Linked DNA regions of Homo sapiens: region 2 is linked to region 1. The links are contacts of gene promoters, found by promoter capture Hi-C in blood cells and fetal thymus (Javierre and others, 2016). All regions are on one chromosome and are shown on one strand. The core of a region is centred on a gene start or on the middle of the fragment in contact, and the rest is flanking DNA. Distances in the headings are between cores, read along the strand shown. Region 1 holds the start of ZC3H8 (zinc finger CCCH-type containing 8). Region 2 has its middle 54 kb from the start of ZC3H8.

The links. Contacts are between HindIII fragments. The CHiCAGO score rates a contact against its expected background, and 5 or more counts as called.
Region 2: a contact is called between a fragment that was not itself captured here and the fragment with the promoter of ZC3H8 in region 1, in 2 of 17 cell types (non-activated CD4 T cells and activated CD4 T cells). The highest score is 6.1, in non-activated CD4 T cells.

The regions. Positions count from the first base shown.
Region 1 is chr2:112,252,080-112,259,625 of GRCh38, reverse strand. ZC3H8 (zinc finger CCCH-type containing 8) reads left to right here and starts at 4,584. Exons shown (of 9, transcript NM_032494.3): 1 at 4,584-4,718. The coding sequence starts at 4,645. RefSeq lists a cis regulatory region at 2,600-2,851 and a silencer at 4,402-4,611. The HindIII fragment of the contact is 1,301 bases long and covers 4,403-5,703 here.
Region 2 is chr2:112,196,818-112,204,363 of GRCh38, reverse strand. It overlaps a transcript of FBLN7 not described here. Among named protein-coding and RNA genes, the nearest start is that of ZC3H8, 54 kb to the left of the region's middle. The HindIII fragment of the contact is 1,801 bases long and covers 2,297-4,097 here.

The DNA of each region.
Region 1 (7,546 bases), core at 3,335-5,834:
ACTGACACCTAGCGGCAGAGGCCAGGGATGCTGCCAAGCTTCCTACAATGCGCAAGACCGTCCCCAATTATCCAGGCCGAAATGACAATAATGTTACGGTTGAAAAAGTCTGCTCTAAACCAGCAGAGCCCAAAGTTGTGGAGATAGGCAGCAAACATTATTCTAGGGCATCACTAGGAATAATACAGAGAGGACCTACTCCCACTTGGAAGCCTTGATTCCCAGACCCTGTGTATACTGGCTATGGGAGAAACAGCACCATGTATTGGTGATTGTTGATTTATAGCACATACTCATAAGGTATTATATCTAGCTCATACTGGAGCTGAGTTATCACAGGCCATTTCACCATTTTAACATGCCAACTGCTTTATTTTATTTTGGTAAAAGAAATATAAAATTTGCCATTTCAACTTTTTTTTTTTTTTGAGACGGAGTCTCACTCTGTTGCCCAGGCTGGAGCGCAATGGCACCATCTCGGCTCACTACAACCTCTGCCTCTCGGGTTTCAGCGATTCTCCTGCCTCAGCCTCCCGAGTAGCTGGGATTACAGGTGCCCGCCACCACGCCTGGCTAATTTTTGGATTGTTAGTAGAGACGGGGTTTCACCATGTTGGTCAGGCTGGTCTCAAACTCCTGACCTCAGATGATCCACCTGCCTTGGCCTCCCAAAGTGCTGGGATTACAGGAGTGAGCAACTGTGTCTGACCAGCCATTTTTAAGCATATAATTCATTGGCATTAGTTACATTCACATTGTTGTGCAACCATCACCATTATGTATTTCCAAACTTTCCCATCACCTCAAGCAGAAATTCTGTCACTTTTAAGCAACAATTCCGTTTCACCCTCTCTCAGTCCCTGGTAACCTCTAATCTACTGTCTGTCTCTATACAATTCCCTATTGTAGATATTTCACGTAAGTGGAATCATACAATATTTGTCCTTTTGTGCCTGGCTTATTTAACTTAGCATACAGTTTTCAAAGTTCAGCTAGTATACAAAATTCAGTTCTGACAGCATGTATCAGAGCATCATTCCTTTTTATGGATAAATAATATCCTATGTGTATATCACATTTTATCCATTAATCAGTGGATGGACACTCGGTTTGTTTCTACCTTTTGGCTATTGTGAATAATGCTGCAATTAACATGAATGTACAAATATATGTTTCAGTCCCTGTTTTCAATTCCTTTGGGTATATACCTAGGAGTGGAATTGCTGGGTCATATGATAATTTTATGTTTAGGCCATCTGCTTTATAATAATAGGGAATTTCACTTTTCTATTGCTATAGAGGACAGCAAATTGGCCTAAAACTTTGTGGTTAAAAAAACAAACATTGATCTTCTTTATTATTATTATTATTTTTTGAGATGAAGTTTTGCTCTTCTTGCCCAGGCTGGAGTGCAATGGCGCGATCTCGGCTTACTGCAAACTCCGCCTCCTGGGTTCAAGCGATTCTCGTGCCTCAGCCTCCCAAGTAACTGGGACTACAGGCATGCGCCACCACACCCAGCTAATTTTGTATTTTTAGTAGAGACGGGGTTTCACCATGTTGGCCAGGCTGGTCTCAACCTCCTGACTTGAGGTGATCCACCTGCCTCAGACTCCCAAAGTGCTGGGATTACAGGCGTGAGCCACCACACCTGGCCCAACATTGATCTTCTTATATCCTCTGTGGGTCACGAATCTGCGAGCTGCTTAGCTGGGTGGTTCTGTCCCACAGTTTCTCACGGGATTGCTGTCGAGATGTCTTCTGGCTTGCTTAGTGCTGGGAGATCTGTTTCCAAGGTACCTCACCCACATGGCTGGCTCTCCACAGGCTGCCTGAGTGATTCATGACATGGTGACTGACTTCCCTTCATGCAGATGATTCAAGAGAATAAGGCAGAAACTACAATGTCTTCTTATGACCTCAGAAATCATGCATCATCACTTTTGCCACATTGTATTTGTTAGAAATAAATAAGTAAATCCTATCCACATTAAAGAAGAGGGGACTAAATCTCCAACTTTTGCAGGGAGAAGTGTTAAGGAATTTTTGAACACATTTTAATATGACCACACCATCCACTGATTTTTTTTTTTTTTTTTTGAGATGGAGTCTCACTCTGTCTCCCAGGCTGGAGTGCAGTGGCGCAATTTCAGCTCACTGCAACCTCCGCCTCCCGGGTTCAAGCGATTCTCCTGCCTCAGACTCCTGAGTAGCTGGGACTACAGGCGTGCGCCAACCCGCCCAGCTAATTTTTGTATTTTTATTAGAGACAGGGTTTCACCATTTTGGCAGGATGGTCTCTATCTCTTGACCTTGTGATCCACCGGCCTTGGCCTCCCAAAGTGCTGGGATTACAGGTGTGAGCCACCACGCCCAGCCCCATCCACTGATTTTTAAAAATTTCAGTATTATATTTTTTATTTCTAGAAGTTCTACTTGGTTACTTCTCCCCAATTTCTCTATGACACTTTTTATAGTTTCTTTTTTATTAGTTAGATATTACTATGTAGTAAACTACTTAAAAACTTAGTGGCTTAAAACAAGGACCATTTATTTATGTGGGTTAGTAATTTGGACTGGGATCATCTGAGAGTCTTTGGTTCTCTGCAGGACTCCATCATGTGTGTGCTCAGCTGTATGTTGCCTAGGAGGCTTTGCTTTTAGGGTTTTGCTAGCTGTTGACTGGGTGTTTTCGCTGTCCTCCATTAGCCTTATCTTCTACATGCCTCTCCCTTATCGTCAGCAGGGTAGCCTGAGTTTATTGTCCTGAAGAAGGCAGGCATATAAGAGACAGCAGACACATACAAAGCCTCTTGGGGCCTTGGCTTGGTATTGGCAGGCCACTTCTGCATTCTACTAGCTAAGACAAGTCATTCTATCAGGCAAAATCAACTCAGATTAAAGAGGAGGTGAAATAGATCCTACCTCTTTATGGGAGGAGCTGCAAAGTCACATTGCAAAGGACATGGATACAGGAAAGGTTGGAGAAATTGGGGCCTTTTTTGGCATCAATCTAACACAAACATATGTAGCCTTTTATATAGTCTTTGTCTGAAAATGCTAGTGTCTGATGCCTTTGCAGGTCAGATGTTTTAGCTGCTTTTTACCTACCAATCTAATTTTCATTTGTGTCTGGTTATCTTTTGCTGTATGTTGGATATTTTATATAAAAAAGTGTGTATGGTAACAATTTGGGTTCTATAATAATGCTTCCTGCTAAAGAGGGGGTAATTCTAGTTTTTATCTCCTTAATTCAATTTTTTCTCTGAATTTTTAGTAATGATTCATGTTCCATAGGTGATGGCCTACAATATAAACAACATGGGAAAGTAGAATTTCCCTGGGGAAGATGTCTGGCTTCAAATAGTTCCCTTCACTAATCGGTAAAGGGATCCTGATTCATGCCAAGAATCAAACACTCCCTTCACTTACAGAAGCAAGTCAGGTTCTCTATCACTGGCCCAACCTAGGGTTTGAGCCTTCCTTTCTACAGGTCCCTTAAATGGCATTACATTGAGCAAAACTGAGCAATTTCCTGTTCTGCAACAGCATGCTCTATTTTCCTGCCTTCATACAATTCTCTCTACTTGGAATGCCCACTTCCTCTTTTCCTATGGAAATATCTCAAGACCCAGCTCAAATACTCCCTTCTCAAGAAGCCTTCCCAACTGGATGCAATTTTTTCCCTCTTCTGAATTCTCTTAGTATTTGGTACTTTTTAACGGACTTTTCTGTCTTGAGGTTACTTGTGTATTCATTTTAATTCCCATTCAATTGTAGAGACCCTACAAGTTACATTACCTGACTACACATCTGTTTATTCATTTCAAAACTGTGAATGGTAATAGAACATCTTTTACAGGGCTGTTGTGAGGATTAAGTTAGCTAACATGTGAAACGCTATTTCTAAGGAATAGTAGTGGAGTGCTCAGATAAATGTTAGCTGTTACTACCATCCCTTAGAAATACTGTGATTTTGATGGAAGAGTTTTCACCAAGGTGAAAGCAGAATCCTAACAACTAATTTTAAAAATTCTGGGCTGGGGCCGGGCGCGGTGGCTCACGCCTGTAATCCCAGCACTTTGGAAGGCTGGGGCGGGCGGATCACGAGATCAAGAGATCGAGACCATCCTGGCCAACATGGTGAAATCCCGTCTCTACTAAAAATACAAAAATTAGCTGGGCGTGGTGGCAGACACCTGTAGTCCCAGCTACTCAGGAGGCTGAAGCAGGAGACTTGCTTGAACCCGGGAGGCGGAGGTTGCAGTGAGCCGAGATCACGCCACTGCAGTCCAGCCTGGACGACAGAGCTTGACTCTGTCTTTAAATAAACAAACAAACAAACAAATAAATAAATAAAATAAACAAAATTCTACTATCTGAGGTAAAGGACGAAAAAGCTTACAGAAGGGCAACCACGGCGGCGCCTGCGCAGAGCCGAGGCGAAGGAGGCAGGGAGAGACCCGGCCTGCCCAGAGTCGCGGAGGGCGGTGCAGCGCATGCGCGGGGCAGGTGAGGCTGCGCGGGGCGGAGCCTGTGGCCCTGGCGCGGCTCTGGGTCCGTCTCGTCGCGTCCGGGTTGTCACTCTCTCGGGTTGTTACTCTGTAGCTTCCCGGCTCGCGAAAGGGAGGACCTGTCTGGGTCATGGATTTTGAGAATCTTTTCTCAAAACCCCCCAACCCGGCCCTCGGCAAAACGGCCACGGACTCTGACGAAAGGTGATCCCATATCTTTTCATCTTTTGAATGCAGGGGCTCAGCGGGACTCCGCCTCTTAGTTTCTTCTGGATTGGAGGCAGTCCGGGGCCACGTCCGGGCCGCGTCGCGAGGGCCCGTGGGGAGCACGTGGGCCGGCCGGGCGCCACCGTCTGACCTATAGAGGTCGTGCGGGGTCCGGGTGGGAGCAGAAGCTGAACGCGGGGCTCAGGCTTAGGCCGTCAGGGCCGGGGCTGTCGAGAGCCTGGGCGGGGGAGCGGGGTGGAGGCGAGAAGGCTCCGGGATGCGCCCCTTTCTCTGCACAGCAGCGGGTGAGGAGCCCGCCTCTGTGGTCCCGTAGCGTCTGTCTTTACCGTTGTTGCCTGTTTCCACGAGACCGTAAACTCCCAGAGGACACTGATGTGACCTTTTTCACTGACACCTCCTAGGTTCTTTTCTGTAGAAAGGATGAAACCACAAGTTTATTGAAAGGTAAAGAATAGGCAATACTCTGCCATTAGTCCACTGATTTGCATGGAAAGACCCTAAAGACCACAATAAAGCAACAGACGTCATTTGGACTTAATATTTCCATTAGGTTGGAAAAGCAAGTGAGACTCTTGGTCAGATGGCCCTAATTTGTAGATTATATTTTTGGAGCAGTGTCTAGTGATTTGAAATGCTAAAAACCACCATCTTTGTTCTTAAACCTACGTCTTTTATTTCCCTCAACTGAGATATATTTCCAGTTGTGATTGATTTTACCATTCGATATTGGTCAGCTGTTCACTCTATCTCAAATTTTACCTTAACTGATCATCCAGAGCTTTACCTTGTGCTTTACATGAAATAAATCACTTAATCCTCAAAACAAACTTAAAGAGAAGATGATGCCGTCCTCGTTTTACAGATGGGAAAACTGAGGCACGGAGAGGCTAAATAACCTGCCGAGATTGCACAGTGTAAGTGGAAGAGCTATGTCCAGGATCCATGATTTTATCACCAAGCTTCTCATGCAAAATGACTAAAATTTTAAAATAAGCCCTATAAATATTGGAAAGAGACAGATACACTAATTACTTGCAGATGATATAATTTACTAAGAAAAATAACTGGTACTAATTGATATGTTATAAAATACATAAGAATTCATCACACAAAAAAAAGATAATAGCAACATTTAAAAATCCGAACAGCAGCTATCAGTTTCAAAGTGTGTTGGACACAAGCTCCATTCCCCAAAACTTGACTGCAATACATAAAAGACACTTGGAATTTTGCCAAAATGATGGGTGAAGGATGGTATGGAAGTATGGTGAGCTGTCCATATTATTTGCCCATTTTTCTCCTTTTTGGTCTTTTTCACATTCTAGGATCTCTTATCTGCGAATACTTTACTCCCAATTGTCATTTGTCTTTGCCTATGGCATTATTTTTCAATGTAAAAAGGAATGGGGATGTTGTGGTTTGGTTTTATGCAGTCAGATGAATCAGTCTTTTCTCATATGGTTTCTGGTTTTTTTTCCGAGTAATTTGTGATGGGAATACTTCTCATTCATTCAAAAAATCGTATTGAGCACCTGCTACGGCCTTGGGGATATAGTAGTAAATGAAGAAGAGATGAAAATTTCTGTACTAATGAATTTACATTATTAGGGGAAGGGGGAGACATACATAAATATATCATATTTTAGGTGGTACTAAATGCCCTGAGAAAATGAATGAAGGGTAAGGGGAAAATAAGCACTGGTGGGATGGTAGGGAGGGAGTAGTTTTGTGGGTTTTTTTTTTATTTTTTTGAGCAGAGTCTGGCTCTGTCGCCCAGGCTGGGGTGCAGTGGCGCGATCTCGGCTCACTGCAAGCTCTGCCTTCCGGGTTCACACCATTCTCCTGCCTCAGCCTCCCGAGTAGCTGGGACTACAGGCGCCTGCCACCACGCCCGACGTATTTTTAGTAGAGACGGGGTTTCACCATGTTAGACAGGATGGTCTCGATCTCCTGACCTTGTGATCTGCCCGCCTTGGCCTCCCAAAGTGCTGGGATTACAGGCGTGAGCCACCGCGCCCGGCTGGGAGGTGTAGATATTTTAAGAAGGTAGATAAGGAAAGCCTCACTGATAACATTGGTAAGTTTTAAAAATCTGTGTAGGGACCTGAAGGAGGTGAGGGGGTTTCATAGTCCAGAGGGGTGGAGAGGAGTCTGTATAAAGGTCCTCAGACGGAGTGAGCTTGGTGTGATTGGGTTAGGGGAGCAAAGTGGCCAGGACAGCTGGGGTGGAGTAAGAGGGACTTGGAAGTCTGCGAGGTACTGGGGTAGGGTTAGGGGAGCCCAATCATGGAGGAACTGGTAGGTGCCGAAATAAGGACTTTGGCTTTTACTCTGAATGAGACAAGAGACCATTGGAGGGTTTTTCAGCAGAGTGACATTTGAAATATTTTAGCAGGGTCATTCTAGTTGTGTTGAGAGTAGAATGTAGGGGTGCCAGAGCAGCTTGGATTGTTGTATTAGTGGCAAGAAGTGGTCAAACGTGGGTATGTTGAAGATAGAATAAACTGGATTTCCTCAGAGATTGGATGGGGATGTGAGAGAGGAATCAAGATTGACTTTAAGGTTTTGGTAGGGATCTTGAGAGGGATGGTGTTGCCGTTTTAGATAGCAAGAAGGATTAGGCTTCAGAGAGAAGAGCAAGAGTTCAGTGTTGGATGTTTTAAGATTACATATGTCTAGTAGATGTTCAGGTGGTTATGTTGACTAGGAAGTTAGCTCTGTTTGGATTTAAGAAGAGGGGTTTGGGTTAGAGACTTGGATATTGAAATCAACTACATACAGATGATATTCATAGTGATGATATA
Region 2 (7,546 bases), core at 1,948-4,447, 54 kb after region 1:
TTCTGAGATGCTTATTATACATATATTGATATGCTTGATGGTGACCTCACAAATATCTAAGGCTCAGATAGTTTTTCTTTTTTTTTTTTTGTTCCTCAAGCTGGATAATATCAATGACCTATGTTTAAATTCACCGATTCTTTCTTCTGCCTGCTCAAATTGTCTCTTGGCCTTCTTGTGAATTTGTTATTTCAGCCTTATACTTTTCAACTTAATATTTCTATTTGTTTTTTTAAAAAGTTTCTATCTCTTTATTGATATTCTCTATTTGATGAGACAACCTCCTTTAGACATGGTTTTCTTTACTTTTTTTGAAAATATTTATAATAGCTGATTTAAAGTCTTTCTCTAGTAAGCTGATATGGTTTGGCTGTGTCCTCACCCAAATCTCATCTTAAATTGTACTCCCACAATTCCCACATTTTGTGGGAGGGAGCTGGTGGGAGATAATTTGAATCATGGGGGCAGTTTCCCCCATACTGTTCTCGTGGTAGTGAATAAGTCTCATGAGATCTGATGGTTTTATCAGGGGTTTTTGCTTTTGCATCTTCCTCATTTTCTCTTGCCACTGCCATGTAAGAAGTGCCTTTTGCCTCCTGCCATGATTCTGAGGCCTCCCCAGCCATGTGGAACTGTAAGTCCAATTAAACATCTTTTTCTTCCCAGTCTCAGGTATGTCCTTATCAGCAGCATGAAAACGGACTAATACATAAGTTCTGAGCTTCCTTAGGGATAGTGTGTATTGACTGTTTATGCATGGGAGCATACTTCTTTGGGCCCCCTTTTTTTGGTAAGTTCATAATATTTTATTGAAAATTGGACATTTTAAACAATATAATTTGTCAACTTTGTAAATCATACTACTCCATCCAGGGTTTGCTTGTTTCTGCTTATTGTCATTGCTGTTTGTTTAGTGTTTTTCCTGGACTAAGTGTGTAAAGTTTGTATTTTTTTATTCTGTATGGCTATTGAAGTCAGCGCTTAGTTAGCTTAATAGACAGCCCTTGATTGGGCAGAGATTTTCTCAAATACCTTGAACATATGAGTCTTCCAGTCTTCATAGAGGAACTCTGTGTGTGAGTTGGGACATACCTTCAATATTCTGGCTGAGAATTTACAACTCTGCCTTAGGCTTTACTTCCTGCATGAGAAGTACCTCAAGCTGGCCTGAGATAAGAACTTAGGACCCTTTCAGGTCTTTCTTGGGCATGTTCTCATCCCTGCACATGCATGGTTTTCTAGATTCCCAGGGATGTGTCAGAGCTTTTCAAAGCCCCCTGTAGATATTTCATTTCCCAGTTTTTTTGTTTTTTTGTTTGTTTGTTTTTGTTTTTTGCTCAGCCTCTTGTTGGCTCTGGAGGTAACAACACCTCCAGTTGCAATATTAAACAATTGCTACTGATTGTTTTTGACAAATGGTAAGGCTGTTCACACAGAGTGAGCTCTTGAGTCTAAGCCCTGAGAAGGTAGCTTTTCAGTAAGCTGTGAGATCAAATAGTGAATTTTAGTGGGGGGTGGAGTTTTTGAGAAGCTCCCAACTTGTTCTACTCACTCCAGTGACTAGTAGGTACTAGTTTTCATAGCTGTTAAGGTTGCAGGGCTTTCAGTCTTCAAGGCTCATACTGTGGAGCTGGGGAGAGGAGAATGACATTAGAGAAGTTAAAATGCCACAGGCATTTCACCAAGATTCAGCTGTTTTGCTTGAATAAATTCTCTTCAAATTGTTGCTAGCCTTCAGTTAATTTCCAGATTCTGAAAAAGTTGATTTTTGACTGTTTTGGCAGTGTTTTTATGTCTTTCATAGAGGAGTGGATTTTTGAAGATTTTTACTCTGCTGTTCCAGAGGTAGAAACCTTAACTCACTTTTAAGTGTGGTTTGACATCACAATACCTTTTAAAAAAACCCTGCACTTAAAAATATATATATTTCTAAATATATTTCATATCTATATATGTAATATATAAATAGAAGTGTATATATAAATAGAACTATATACGTATTTATGACTGGTATGAAAATTGAACATGTCGTCTTCTAGTACTTTTATTTCAAAATCACCTTTCCTTGCCTGGCATGTCCAGAGACTCATCTTCCTGGGGAACGCAATTGCACTCAGAGGAATGAGACAGTAAACAATTAACAGATAAAGTGCACATGACTGTTAGCAGGAAGCTCCTAGTTCATAAGAATTTGGGACCTTTACTCCATGCTCCAAATTTTTAAACTACCTTTTTAAGAGATTCCACAGAAGTAGTCTTATTTACCATTCCCATAAGTCTTAAATATATACAAGCTTTGTATCCCAGCTGTATCCTACATAAAAATACTCCAAATTTATTTGCCTGGATGTGTTGCTTGGCAGGTATATTTGTTACATAATAATATAAACTAGACTTTAATCTTGGACTTCCTGAATGAATTTGTGATTCAGCCTCATATCTGCTGACACACCAGCTCTTTTCAGCCTTCCATATGCCCACAGACTGTAAGCCAATTTAAACTTCCTCATGTAGCTGAACTCAGTTAGGTAAACCTGGAATCAACAGAAATGCTCCTTATTTCAGCCAAATGCACATAAAACAGTCATTTCAGTCCATGAAGGAGGAAAGCCTGGTTGCTGTGAATTCCTTATTATCTCAGAGACTGAATGCCTGTCCTTGTGTAGCTGTGAAGGATTCTATGTTCTCCCTAAGTTGGGGAGATGATGTGAGTGGCCCCTCAGGAAACAGAAACCTGCCCAACCTCCCCTGGCTCCTGCCACTCTGGACTGCCTGCAGTTCTGGAGGGCTGTGTTCTTTGGGATGTGTCCTACACCTACATCTGAACCAGGGGAGGAAAAAAAAAGAAGGGAAAAATGCCCTTGACTTTTCAAATAAGATGTGCAGGCCTTCTGCCAAGGAGCTGGAACGGCAAGGCAGGGAACAGGGTACCCTGGAACAAATGCGAGACCTGAGAGATCTTCACCTGGGAAGACACTGCTGGGGCCCACGGCCTTTGTTCTGTTAAATCTTGGCAAGGACCTGTGACAAGGCTGTGGTGTGGGAGCTGCACGATGGTCCGTGAAACAGGCCTTCCGGGCCCACCCATGAATGAGCAAGTGTCTGTTGTTCAGAACTCTCCAGGTCAAATCACAGGATTTGTAAAGAGATTCAGGACAGCAGTCACTGGGCCCTGCCTCCTGCCTCAGAGGCCTCACTCACATTTCCTCTGTTGTCAGAGGCAGCCTTAGTGAACCAGGCAAGGGTACATCTCGCTTTCCACCCTCCTTTGATCTCAGCAACCCTCACACTCCTTGTCTCAAATTGTCCTCCCTGACATTCTGGAAGCTGTGGAAGGGCATTTAGTGTACCTGCCCCATCCAAAGCTGTATTCTCTGCAAGGATCAAGCACATAAAAGGCACTTGCTCAATATTCATCATTGACATTTAAACATTTAAATGGGTGCTGCTTTTTTCCATCCAACAATATGAAAAATGGTGACCTTTAAGTGAAAGAGAATAAATAGGATTTTAAAAAACATTTAGGCTGGGTGTGGTGGCTCACACCTGTAACGCCTGTAATCCCAGTACTTTGGGAGGCTGAAGCAGGTGGATCACCTGAGCTCAGGAGTTCGAGACCAGCCTGGCCAACATGACGAAACCCCACCTCTACTAAAAATGCAAAAATTAGCCGGGTGGTGGTGCACCTGTAATCCCAGCCACTTGTGAGGCTGAGGCAGGAGAATAGCTTGAATCTGGGAGGCAGAGGTGGCAGTGAGCCGAGATTGTGCGACTGCACTCCAGACTGGGGGACAGAGCGAGACTATGTCTAAAAACAAAATAAAACAAAAAACAAACAAAAAAAACCATTTACGCCTTATCCATGAAACAACATAGATGGAGGTGATGTGTCCTTCTGCTCAGGTAATTCGAGAATTCCCCAGACAAAGGCAGAAATGAAGGAGAATGGCCAAGTATGTAGCTAGTGATTCCCTATGCATAAGCCAGCTGCATACATGCCACCCCTTATGTGACATTCCCACGAACATCTGAGGTGTCCCCCATGGCTCTGCACAGTTCCTCCTGGGCAAGCCATACTCCTTTGTTATTTCCAAGCTTGAGAATCTTAATTAGTACTAGCCACCAATTACCTAATACACACTTCACAGCTGATCACCACACTCCAGTGGATCAGGGATTGCAGTTGAGAGCACTGGTTGCTTGAGTTGGGAGTTGATGTCTCTCAGTCAAAGACCACCAGGAACCCACATATAGTCAACAAAGTCAGGTTTACTATTTGCTGCAGCAAAAGAGGTTGCATATGGGGGGTGTCTTTGTCTGTTTTCTGTTGCTATAACAGAATACCACAGACTGGGTAACTTATAAAGAAAATGTTTAGCTCATGGTTCTGGAGGCTGGGAAGTTCAAGAGCATGGAACTGGCATCTTGTGAGGCCTTCTTGCTGCATCATACCACGGTGAAGGGCATTACATGGTGAGAGGGCAACAGCAGGAGAGCCAGAGAGAGCTCGCTTCTATAATAAAGCCCTTCCCTCAATAACGAACCCACTCCTGTGATAGTGACATTAATCCATTTATGACCACACAGGCCTCATTAACCCATTAATCCATTCATGAGGGCAGAGCTAACACTAATTCATTCATGAGGGCAGAGGGATTAATTTTCCAACACATGAACATTTGGGGGCACATTCAAACCATAGCAGAGAGGAACTGAGGAACATCTTAACAGGAGGGAATTGGGGACAGACAGGGCATTTGAGACCAGAGAAAGTCATAGGATGATCCTGGAAGGGATGGGTGAGATTTTGTAAACTAGAGAGTTTCTGGAAGAGTCAGTACTCTTGTCTGGCTGTGTGAGTGAGTGGGTGTTAGGAGAGTTTATGCTTAGATGATTTGTGACATTCATGTTCTGAATGGGTGCCATTTATGGGTTAGCTCTAGAGCAGCAATGTTGAAAAGTTGTGGCTTGTTTCAACTCTCAGTTCTCCCTGACAGCCTTGCTGCCAATAGAGCAATTTTTCACTCCGTCACTGGAAAAGTGACGATGAGAGAAATGAGAGAAATGGACACCAGGAAATGACTCTGCCCACCGTACAACTGTCTGTCACCATGCAAAGAGGGAGAGTTGCATGCAGGGATGCTAAAGGAGAAAAGACACCCTGGGCAATTTCTCAGGGGGACCGCCTTGACCTGGGAGGCATTTCTATGGAATTCCTGTCCATTTGTCTTTTGACTCACTTTTGATCTTGATTATAATTTTTTCCCTTCTGTTTGTCCAAGAGGAAAAGGAAATGTGGGTCATGCATCCTGGTTCCTAGGGCAGAGCCTGGCTTTAATTAGCATGCAGATGGAACCCACATAGTCCTTCACTTGCTCTGTAATGTCACCTGAAGTTAATAAAAGCAGAGATTCCAATTAGTTAGCCTGACTCACTGGTAGACTATAGTGGAGGGAGGCTTCCCTGGCTTTACTGAGGGTGTATCTTAGTGCATTCAGGTTGCTATAATAAACTACCTTAGGCTGGGTGACTAATAAACAACAAAAATTTATTTCTCACAGTTCTGGAGGTTGGAAAGTCCAGGATCAAGGTTCCAGCAGGTTTGGTGTCTGGTGAGGACCTGTTTCATGACCCATAAATGGTGCCTTTTTACTGTGTCCTCACATGATGAAAGGTAGCAGACACACTCTGGGTTTCTTTCTTTCTTTCTTTCTTTCTTTCTTTTTTTTTGAGACAATCTCACTCTGTCACCCAGGCTGGAGTTAGTGCTGCAATCTCGGCTCACTGCAACCTCTGTCTCCCAGGTTCAAGCGATTCTCCTCCCTCAGCCTCCCAAGTAGTGGGATTACAGGTGTCTACCAATACACCTGGCTAATTTTTGTATTTTTAGTAGAGACGGGGGTTTCACCATGTTGGCCGGGCTGGTCTTGAACTCCTGACCTCAAGCAATCTGCCCACCTTGGCCTCCCAAAGTGCTGGGATTATAGGCATGAGCCACCGCACTCAGCCTCTGGGTTTCTTTTATAAGGACACTAATCCCATTTATGTGAGCTCCGCTTTTATAAACTAATCACCTCCCAAAAGCCCTACTTGGTAACACCATCACCTTGGAGATGAGGTTTCAATGTATTAATTTAGGTGGTTGGGGGAGACATAAACATCCAGACCACAGAAAGGGGTAAGAGCCGAATCAGCTGCTGCAGGAATATTGTTACAGAGGAGGGAGACAGCAGGCCTGGAAGAGGAGGTTTCAGGGAGGGAGTGTTTTTGATCCTGCAGATTCTGAGGAGAGAATGGCTTTGATTTTGTTTGCTGTTCTCCAGGCAAATCCAGGGTGGGGATTAAGAGTCCATAGCCCTTCCTGTTCCTGGAGTCAATGAATCTCTTTATGAAATATGCTGATTGAGCCCCTTGTTTCATCTTTTTACTGCTGAAGTGAGTAGAATCATGTCATTACTAGTTATAAAATTAGTCCATGTCTTTTTCAGAAATAGAAAAAGAAAAAAGTCCACGATGTTTGAAAATCAGCTCCCTGAATGTCCCAGTATGACTCTGCCCTCATTGCAAAATGGCTTTCCTCTCTGGCTTTAAATTTAGCTGCAGTTACACTAATAAAGTCATCATCTTGCTCCAAGATCATTAGCAAAGAAAGGGATGGCTGAGCTAGGATGTGGACTTGAAGTGAAGTGACTGGTTGGCAGTTGGTGGCTGTCTATGTTCCCTAGGATGGGGATGACCCCTTTCAGCAATAGGTGATTTACCCTCAGCTGGTGTTTGGAGGGGAGGTTGGGATACTAGGTGTGTTCATTTCCTAGGGCTGCTGGAACAAAATACCACAAACCAGGTGGCATTCTCTCACAGTTCTGGAGGCTACAAGTCTGAAATAAAGGTATATACAGGGCCACACTTCCTCCAAAGGCTGCAGGGAATGATCCTTCCTTATCTTTTCCTAGCTTTTGGTGATTGCCAGCAATCTCAGCATCCCTTTGCTGTGAAAGCATGACACCAATCTCTGCTTCTGTCTTTTCTCTCTCTCTCTGCATGTTTCTCTCTCTGTCTCTCTCTCTCTCTCTCTCTCTCTCTCTCTCTGTGTGTGTGTGTGTGTGTGTGTGTGTGTGTGTGTGTGTGTTTTCTCTTACGGATGCCAGTCATTGTATGATGATTCCATCTTAACTAATTACATCTGCAAAGACATTATTACTAAATAACATCACATTCATAGGTACCAGGTGTTAGGACATTGACTTGGTTTGGCTGTGTCCCCATCCAAATCTCATCTTGAATTGTAGCTCCCACAATTCCCATGTGTCATGGGAGGGACCTGGTGGGAGATAACTGAATCATGGGGGCAGGTCTTCCCCATGCTGTTCTTGTGATAGTGAATAAGTCTTAGGAGATCCAATGGTTTTATAAAGAGGAGTTCCCCTGCACAAGTTCCCTCTTGTCTGCTGCTATGTAAGACATGCCTTTGCTTCACCTTTGCCTTCCGCTATGATTGTGAGGCCTCCCCAGCCAGGCAGAACTGTGAGTCCATTGGACCTCTTTT